Regions from separate parts of the Homo sapiens genome. Here all the other regions are linked to region 1. The links are contacts of gene promoters, found by promoter capture Hi-C in human tissues and cell types (Jung and others, 2019). All regions are on one chromosome and are shown on one strand. The core of a region is centred on a gene start or on the middle of the fragment in contact, and the rest is flanking DNA. Distances in the headings are between cores, read along the strand shown. Region 1 holds the start of RAB31 (RAB31, member RAS oncogene family). Region 2 overlaps RAB31 (RAB31, member RAS oncogene family). Region 3 overlaps RAB31 (RAB31, member RAS oncogene family).

Region 1 (3,153 bases), core at 455-2,954:
CGGTTTGCCTATTTCTGTCTGGGCACAGTTCTGCCCTTAGCAATCTAAGGCAACTTCACAAAGCTCCACTCACTGCACGGGATGTAGAACACAGTGGAGGCTTCCACCCTGGTTTGACTGGCTTTTGGGAATCAAGCTGGAAAGCCAAAAGGACATGTTTCACTGTGGAGGTGCCCTCAGGGCTGGCGAAGGCCTTGGGGGAGGTGTCTTTGCAACTGTGTAGGGGTGGTTTTCTGATTAGCAAATCTGAGGGCAGGGAGATATTGTGATCAGGACTGTTTGATTCTGGGGAAGCCTCTTTTTACCCTGCCCACATAGAAGACTCTGCTTTGGATACAGAGTCAAGGACGGATACTGATACAATGGACCTGTAACTTGTCCATGGCTGCCTTTTGTACAGTTTAGTCCATTTGAGTAATCTCTACAAGCCTGCACCTCGAGGGCAAACTTCCTGCTCTTCTGGGGAATTTAATTGTGAATTGTCTGTTTCGGGGCCCATTTTGACTCCTGTATTCCAGGACTTATCTCTTTGGAGGCCTTGATTTGGAATTTCCCATTGGATGGGGCTACTTGGGTACTGGGTAGCTTCAACCTGGCTTCCGTAAGAACAAAGCCAGATGATCACGGTGGGTGGTCTGCTAGGAGAATGGAAATGCCATTGATTAAAATTGGAAGGTTAAGAGAGAGGCCTGAGAGTTTGGGATAGGAGATGAAGTTTCAAAAAATCAGTTTTTAAAAAAACATTTCCCATCTGAAATGCCAGTGAATTGTTCAGATAGATTACATTGAAAAGGCTGACATTTCTGTAGCAGCAACGAATGAAGTCATCCGAGTGGATGAGGTGCTCTAGGCCATACATGGAGAAGAGAACACAGTTACCCAAGCCTCCCCGACTGTGTGCGGCCACAGACTCTGCTCATTTCCCAGTTAGGAACGATGCAGGGGTCTGCTGGGATCTCCACGTTTCTACCTGTACCTCTGAGGACTGGGTTTCTGCCCACACGAGTTGCAGGATTTGCTCTACTGAGAAAAAGACTTTTGCTCCAGAAAGCAAGTTTCCCGTTTCAGACACGGACAGCGAGTTTTGCTTCTAGAATCATTTTCAGCTGCATACAGAAAAATGAACTTGGCTGAGCTGAAGAGCCACACATATGTTAAACGGAAGCTCGGGTATTAGGAACGTCGAGAAAGGCAGGCCGAAAAGTTAGCCCCCTTCTCCTCACCCCTGTCCTCACAGCGGCCCCTTCAGTGGCCTGACTTTTTCTGCGTGGGACCCAGAATGTCGCTTGAGGATGGGACCCCCGCAGACCTCCACGCGCTGCCACGCAAACGGCCTCGGCCGAGAGCATTCGCTTTCCAGATGAGAATGGCATCTTCAGGGACCCGCTGGTAGTGGGGCCAGGTCTCCACAGGGCCGGTCCAGTCCTTCCTACCCACCCGGGCCCTGCGGCCAGGCGGGGCCGGGAGGGGCGGATGCCGGAGGGCGCTGGGGGAGGCCGACCCGCGCGGGGCTGGTCCGAGGGCGGAGGCAATCCGCCGGCGACGCCGCAGGTCCCGGGTGGCTGACGCCGTCCGGGGGCGTTCCTGGGAGCTGGGGGCCGGCGAGGCTGGACCCGACGCGCCCGGGAGGAGCCGGCCGGCGGCCACGTGACCCACCGCGGCGGGGCCGGCGGCCCAGAAATAGCAGCGGCGGCGGTTCCGCCCGCGGGCGGCGCGAGCGAGGGGCAGAGGCGAGAGACGCCGGCGGGGCGCGGGCGCGGCGGCCCCGGAGGATGCTGCTGAGCCCCGGCACTGCCTGGCTGCGAGCACATGATGGCGATACGGGAGCTCAAAGTGTGCCTTCTCGGGGTGAGTCCTGGCCGCCACCCGCCGGCGGACCCCGGCCCGCGCTCTCGCGCCCCTTCGCTCCCCTATTCCCTGCGCGCTCAGTCCCCGTGATCCCCTCGCTCTCCGCACCCCTCTCGTAGCCCCCGTCCCCCTCGTCCGCGCGCCCCCTGGTTCCCCGGGTCCCCCTGGCTCCCCTAGTCCGTGCGCCCCTCGCTCTCCGCGCCCCTCGCTCTCCGCACCCCGCCTGTTCTCCGCCTCCCCGCCGTCCGTGCGCCCCTCTGGTCCGCCCCCGCTCTCACCCTGCCGGGGTCCGGGTCCGAGCCTGCCCCGGGCTTACTCCGCTCTTTCCTCCCGGCCCGCGAGTCCCCGGATCCGCGGCGACCTCGCGGGGACCCCCAGCGGGGACGGGGCAGTGGCGGCGAGTCTGGGGCCCCGAGGGCTTTCTCCTCCGCTTTTGATAGTTTCCTTCCGGCAGAAAGTTTAAGTTGCTCAGCCAAGTCGCTGAGTGCTCTTTTGCCTCCTGGGGGCAATTGATTTACTCACGTAAAACAGAAAAATAAAACCAAAAGCGAACCCAGCCAAGGGGGTGAAAGCCGAGGGCGCGGCCGGGGTGGAAGGTGAGGCAGTGACCTGTGCGGAGCGCGCCCTGCAAACTTCCCTGCTGCGGGTGAAAGAAGCTGCCTGGGAAAGTCCTCCCCACCATCACTCCCCTAAAGTGGGGTTTTCTCCGCCCGAAGAAGCCTTAAAGCAGCCAGAAACAAAAAAGCAGTCAATCCGTGCGGCCCGGGGACTGCAGACAGGGGACCCGGCGAGGACGCAGGGAGCCGCTGGCGAACCGCCCCTGGGAATTCAGATAAACGTAGGGTCGCTTCCTTTCGGGGGCCCACTCCGCATTCCAGAATTCCTTCTTCTAAAAGAAGAGCCGGTTCTAAGGGCGTTTTCAGCAGCCATTAGCATCTGGTGTACCCGCCCGTGTCATTGGCAAAGCTGGTCTCATGAAAACCATTTCCTAAAAAAGGGCAGCGAAAGGGTCGCATTCTTGTGCGAACTGATCTGTCAAGATGGGGGTACAAGAACTGTAGAAAGAGGAAATGATTTCGGTGAGGACTGAATTGTGCCAGCGTCTCTAGGCTTCCTCTAGGCTCTTGTGGAACCTCCGGCAGGCTCCCATCATCGGCTCCCATCACCGGCCTCTTCCAAAACCATCCCTTACGCTAACTCGATTGTCCGGTTGGCTTAGAATTCCAGAGGATCTGGGAAGGCCCTGCCCTCCCTGCTAGCCCCTGGCACAGATCCGCACAGATCCCCACCTCCCCCGACTTGCTC
Region 2 (3,153 bases), core at 273-2,772, 91 kb after region 1:
CCAGTGGGAAGTTTTCAGATGACCATATTTCTAATTATTGTGATTGCTTTTCCTAAAATTTGACTTTTAGAGGTTGTAGACATCTGACTCCATTGATACATCCATAATTTTAAAGAAATCACTAGCATTATACATGCAAGGCATGACTCCACAGTAGGGATATTCTTTCTTTATACTTCGAGGAAGACGGATTTAGTTTGGGATAACGATTTCAAAGTGAACATTTTTAGAGTCTAGATTTGTGGAGAGTGTGTGACTGATATCCATGTGGCTATGTGGTCACCTGATCTCCCCAGCCCTCGACGGCCTGATTTCATTATCCTTGGGCTGTCCTTGTCTGGTGTCCCCTGGTGGAGTCTTGCATCTCTCCAGTAATGGCAATTTTTCAATTGTTTTGGCAGCTTGTTGCTGGCTTTAATTGTGCTTGTAATGATGTTGCCTAATGTTTGAGCTAAAAATAAATTCCCTGCTGTTGCTTGTGCCTATTGCTATTTGTTCTGTCTCATTAATTATTGGAGTCCCGTGAATTTTATTACCCCTCTTTATCATCATAGAAATGTTATTGTTCTTTTAGTTTTCATAATTTTAAACAAACAATCACTTTGGGTTTATGATTTGACAATATAAAGACAGATTTCTTTTTTTCTTTCTTATTTTATTTTATTTTATCTTTTTAAGACAAGGTCACACTCTGTCAGCCAGGCTGGAGTGCAGTGATGCAATCATAGCTCACTGCAACCTCAAACTCCCAGGCCTGGTCAATCCTCCTGCTCCAGCCTCCTGAGTAGCTGAGACTACCAGTGTATGCCACCATGCGCAGCTAATTTAAAAAAAAAAAAAAAATTGGGCCAGACACAGTTGCTCACGCCTGTAATCCCAGCACTTTGGGAGGCCGAGGCGGGCAGATCACGAGGTCAGGAGTACGAGACCAGCCTGGCCAACATGGTGAAACCCCGTTTCTACTAAAAATAGAAAAAGTAGCTGGGCGTGGTGGCACTTGTAGTCCCAGTTACTTGGGAGGCTGAAGTGAGAGAATCGCTTGAACCCAGAAGGCGAATGTTGCAGTGAGCTGAGATTGCACCACTGTACCCCAATCTGGGTGAAAGAGCAAGACTCCACCTCAAAAAAAAAATTTGTTAGAGATGAGGTCTTGCTATGTTGTGCAGGCTGGGCTTGAACTCCTGGCCTCAAGCAATCCATTTCACTTGGCTTCCCAAAGTGTTGGGATTATAGGCGTGAGCCACCAAGCCTGGCCAAAGACATGGATTTCTGTGTCCTTAAAGGAAGAAAGCTCCGCTCAGTGCTTTGCTTGTGTTCATGATTCAATATTTATTTATTTGTGGAATGATTGCACCAAGTTCTGCCTAACATACACAGCATTCTGGTTAATGTCCTACTTACTGCCCAGTAATAATTCTATCTTATATTTGTGGTACAAATTTGTACTCTTGGAAAATTATTTTTTCTTCTCCTGAGCACAGGAATCTCAAAGGATCCTCCTCCTCTTTATATAAGAGAGTATTCATTCTATTTATTTTTATTTATTTATTTTAGAGACAGGGTCTCACTCTGTCACCCAGGCTGGAGTGCCATGGCATGATCATAGCTCATTGTAGTCTCAAATTCCTGGGCTCAAGCGATTCTCCCGCCTCAGCCTCCAGAGTAGCTGGGACTACAGGTGCGCCACCGTGCCCAGCCTATTCATTCTTGATACTGTCTGAATGTTGCTTTTGCTTTTTTAATCCAACTGTGTGTCATGGGCATCCTATCTCATTCATTCAGTGGTGATATGGTAATTCATAGGGTGCATCTATTAACAAAAATGTTTTTTGAAAAATTTAACCATTTCCCAGTTGAATCCCATTTGTTGGAAGCTTGACATTAGTAAGATTTGTGCATGGTGTGTTGTACCACCAAGGACTATGAAGAGGGGAAGAGTGCCATTGGGCTCCCTCTGTTGTACCATCAGTGTGGCCTTTGGGAAGTTTTTATCCTGTCCTCTTGGAATGGGTTATTGTGCTGGTTTCTGCTTCACACCAAGCTGTGAACAGTACAGAGTAGCAGGTCAGCAGGCACCTTTGCAAGGATGTACACAGGAGCCATGCCTAGAGCGGTCCATAGCCGACAGAAGGTAATTTACCTGCCCAGCTCCCTGCGGGAGCCTAGAGTCAACACATAGAGTGGCTTTTAGCGAGAGGAGCTGAAAAGCAACATTGTCATAAATAAGGCATGCGTTCATGAAGAGGTGAAGAGCTGGGGATAATACTTTCATCTGCCAGCGGCCCCTCCTGGGTTCTCTTGCTCTATATACCATGGAGGACCAACTTCTTCCAACCTGAAACTTTCTTCAGCCATCTCCCTTCCATTTTTTTCCACCGTGCTATACTTTTACACAGTTCATGACGTTCCAACACAAATTTCCCATTAAAAAACCTGAAGCTGTAGAGCTAATGTTTGACTTTCCATGGCTCTGAAGATATATTTATTCCTTCCTCTTGGCTCAGACGGCCCCTCCCCATGTTGGAAAATGGTTTCTAAAAAGAGCCCAGTGAAGCGGCAGTGGTGGAATTCTCTGTACTTTTTCCTTGGCAGGGAGTTCTTTCCCTGACCCCCTTCTTACCTGTTCTAGACCCACTCAAGCTTCTGTCTCTGAGCTTTCTGTCCTCATTCTCTGTTGGCCTTGGAAGCAGATGAGCCAACTTTCATCTTTTCTGGATAACCCACTCTGGAGCTTTAGCAGTTAGAAATCACATTCACTGAAAATTGCTTTTGTCCACATTTGTTTCTGTGTTGACTATCAGTATGTGGAGTATGACCAGCCCCCCTTTTTTTTTATTTAAAAACAGCTTTACTGAGATCCGATTCACGTACCATACAATTTATCCATCTAAAGTACGCACCTTGGTGGGTTCTGATGTGTTCCGAATTGTTCAACCATCAGCACAATCCATTTTAGAGCATTTTTATCAGTCCAGAAAGAAACGCTTATGAATTAGCAGTCACTCCCAGTTCCCCCTCTACATCCCCCAGCCCTGGGATACTTTCTGTCTCTAGATTTGCCTAATCTGGACATTTCACACAAATGGAATCATACAACCTGTGGTTCTTTGTGACTGGATCCTTTCACTTAGGATAAGATTATCAAGGTTCACC
Region 3 (3,153 bases), core at 416-2,915, 73 kb after region 1:
ATAATACAAGTATGCCCCGTGCAATATTTGGGACATGTGTATACTAAAAATTTATTAGTTCTTTATCTGAAATTCAAATTGAACTGGCATCCTGTATTTGTGTTTGCTGAAGGTCACAACCCTTACCTCACCCCTCCTTTGGGCTTAAGCCAAGCTGGTTGGGTTTCCGAGTCTTGCAACCAAAGGGACCTCAATAGAAGCAGGCAGTTGTGCAATAGGGCTTACACAGGTGACTCAACTTTAATTGTGACACAGACAAGATTAAAGTCTAATTGTTTTGATTATAAAAGTTCATGTTCGACTGGGCGTGGTGGCTCCTGCCTATAATCCCAGCACTGTGGGAGGCTGAGGCAGGTGGAACATTTGAGCCCAGGAGTTTGAGACTAGCCTGGGCAACAGGGCGAAACTTGGTCTCTACAAAAAAATACAAAAATTAACTGGGTGTAGTGGCATGTGCCTGGAGTCCTAGCTACTTGGGAGGCTGAGGTAGGAGGATCACCTGAGACCTGGAGGTTGAGGCTGCAGTGAGCCATGATTGTGCCACTCTACTCCAGCCAGGGCAACAGAGTGAAATACTGTTCCAAAAAAAAAAAAAAAAGTTCATGTTCACTCTAAAAAAAACCCAAAGAACACAGAATTCATGAAACTAGGAATCTTAGTGTACATACAGTTTTTTTTTACTCTGTGTTTTCTACTTAATATATTTTGAACATTTTTTACAGTGTCACATAATCTTCAAAAACATGTTGAAAGTATTTTTTCTGATTATAAAAGTATTATATACTCATCATAAACAACTGAAAATGAAAAAAACATGAGGAAAAATATTTTAAAAACCCATAATCTACCTCTTAGAGGTAATTACTGTAAACATTTTGTTATTTTCTTCCAGCCCTTTTCTTGTATAAGTGTGTGTATGCGTTATTTATTCAACATCATTTTGTGAATTTCATGCCATTAAATAGTCTTTAAAAACAATTTTTAATGGTTGTATTTTTCACTTCAGGCATTTAGGTTGTTTAAACACTTTTGTACTTTTATAAATAATGTTATGAGGCTAGACACGGTGGCTCACGCCTGTAATCCCAGCACTTTGGGAGGCCAAGGCAAATGGATCACCTGAAGTCGGGAGTTCAAGACCAGCCTGGCCAACATGGTGAAACCCCATCTCTACTAAAAATGCAAAATTAGCCAGGCATGGTGGTGCACGCCTGTAATCCCAGCTACCTTGGGAGGCTGAGGTAGGAGAATCGCTCGAACCCGGGAGGCAAAGGTTGCAGTGAGACGAGATTGTGCCACTGCACTCTAGCCTGGGTGACAGACAGAGTGAGACTCTTGTCTCAAAAAACAAAACAAAACAGAACAAAACAAAACATAAATAAATAATGTTATGATGTACCTCGTTGGGCATAGATACCCATGTATACTGCTGATTATTTCTTTAGGTTAAACTCTTAGCAATGGAATAATTTAGTCCAAGAATAAAAATCTATTTAAGGCTCTCAATGGATATTACCAAATTGTTTTTCGGAAAGGTTATCTCTGTACCAGCTTTAGGTATTTTTTTTTGTACAATTTTTAACTTTATAAAATTGTAAAAGTTTGTATGATTTTGAATTCTATTCTTTTCCTCTAACTTCAAATGTTCGCATTTTCTCGTAGCTTAATGTTTCTTTGTTAAAACAATTTTACATGATGGCAGCATGGTATTGTGTGCTGTTCTTTTTTCTTTTTTTTTATTTGAGACAGAGTCTTCTCTGTTGCCCATGCTGGAGCACAGTGACGCGATCTTGGCTCACTGCAACCTTTACCTCCCAGGTTCAAGCAATTCTCATGCCTCAGCCTCCCAAGTAGCTGGGATTACAGGCACTCGCCTCCACGCCTGGCTGATGTATTTTTAGTAGAGACAGGGTTTCACCATGTTGGCCAGGCTGGTCTCGAGCTCCTTACCTCAGCTGATCTGCCCGCCTTGGCCTCCCAAAGGAGTTTACAGGCGTGAGCCACCGCGCCCAGCCCTGTTCGCTTTCTACCTCGTCCCTTGCTTTTCCTCTGGAGTCAATGTTAGGCTCAGCCCCTCCACCCTTATGTATTGTCTTCTTGATATAATTTAACTTCTTGATTTAAAAATTGATGAAAATTTTCCCTCTGGAATTTTGAGAAAATGTTTTCAAACACCAGTTGCAGAAAAATAAAGCTAGTGGGAACACTTTCTAAGTGACACATGCAGTTTTCCTGGAAGGTGGCATAAATGGAACACTTTTAAAACGTTTGAGTGCTTTCCCAAAAGCTGGTAGGTTCGGTGGGCTGAGGAACTGGCTTATATTAATATATTTGTTTTGTTCAGCCTTCACAGTGCTGTAAAGACTTTAAGCCAATAGAGAATCAGGAGACTGGCACGTAATAAACTTGCATTCCTGGTTTCTCTTGAAAAATCAGTGGGTTTGGAGCCCTGGTGCCCATTCCCATGTGGTGGGAGCCAGCCGGTGCCACTCCGCATGGGTGGCCAGGCCTCCCGGCTTCATGCCATTCCCGCTAGGTATTGTTACTATTATGTTCATCAGTATAAACGTTCACACCTAGCCTGCTTCACTCATTTATATGTCCTGCCTGGTCCCTAGACATTTCAGTTCCTGGCCCTGGCACTGCCTTCTTGGCGGTAACCCTGCTGGCCACCCCCAGGCCCAGGGCGGTTAGGGGACTTGCCTAGGTGCACACAGCCCGTGAGCAGCCCACTCATGGCTCACACCAGTGAGTCCACTCTCAAAGCCCACCCTTGTTCTTCCCACTGGAATCACACGACCATTGGTACAATGCCATGGGCTGTAAAATGCCATTGCTTCAGCATTAAAAGAGTTAACTCTTATGGCCTCTCTGACTCACACTGAAAAACCTTGGCTCTGCTATTCAAGCAGATTGCATTAACATCTTGAGTGTGTGTGTATGTGTGTGTCTCCCTTTTTATTTCAACTTTTGTAAGGAAATTGTGTAACTTCTCTGCCAGATTTTGGTTTCCACAGATAATGAAGTCAGTTTATCAGGGCCAGTGCGCCTCCTCCACCAGTTTGGAGGGTAATCTACACAGAAGAAAAGATGCCTGAGGTTCTTATTTGTTTATTTGTTTGAGACAGGATCTTGCTCTGTCACCCAGGCTGG

What was found. Contacts are between HindIII fragments. The study calls those that stand out against the background at their distance.
Region 2: a contact is called between a fragment that was not itself captured here and the fragment with the promoter of RAB31 in region 1, in 2 of the 25 tissues and cell types used here (IMR-90 fibroblasts and dorsolateral prefrontal cortex).
Region 3: a contact is called between a fragment that was not itself captured here and the fragment with the promoter of RAB31 in region 1, in 2 of the 25 tissues and cell types used here (liver and mesenchymal stem cells).

Annotation. Positions count from the first base shown.
Region 1 is chr18:9,706,597-9,709,749 of GRCh38, forward strand. RAB31 (RAB31, member RAS oncogene family) reads left to right here and starts at 1,705. Exons shown (of 7, transcript NM_006868.4): 1 at 1,705-1,848. The coding sequence starts at 1,810. It overlaps LOC124904244 (a long non-coding RNA gene), which reads right to left and starts at 1,376. Exons shown (of 2, transcript XR_007066281.1): 1 at 1-1,376. It overlaps LOC105371981 (a long non-coding RNA gene), which reads left to right and starts at 2,076. Exons shown (of 2, transcript XR_935131.2): 1 at 2,076-3,153. RefSeq lists silencers at 1,400-1,969, 2,070-2,299. The HindIII fragment of the contact is 12,091 bases long and covers 1-3,153 here.
Region 2 is chr18:9,797,962-9,801,114 of GRCh38, forward strand. The region is part of intron 3 of RAB31 (RAB31, member RAS oncogene family); the gene reads left to right. Among named protein-coding and RNA genes, the nearest start is that of TXNDC2, 86 kb to the right of the region's middle. The HindIII fragment of the contact is 3,726 bases long and covers 1-3,153 here.
Region 3 is chr18:9,779,594-9,782,746 of GRCh38, forward strand. The region is part of intron 2 of RAB31 (RAB31, member RAS oncogene family); the gene reads left to right. Among named protein-coding and RNA genes, the nearest start is that of RAB31, 73 kb to the left of the region's middle. The HindIII fragment of the contact is 8,364 bases long and covers 1-3,153 here.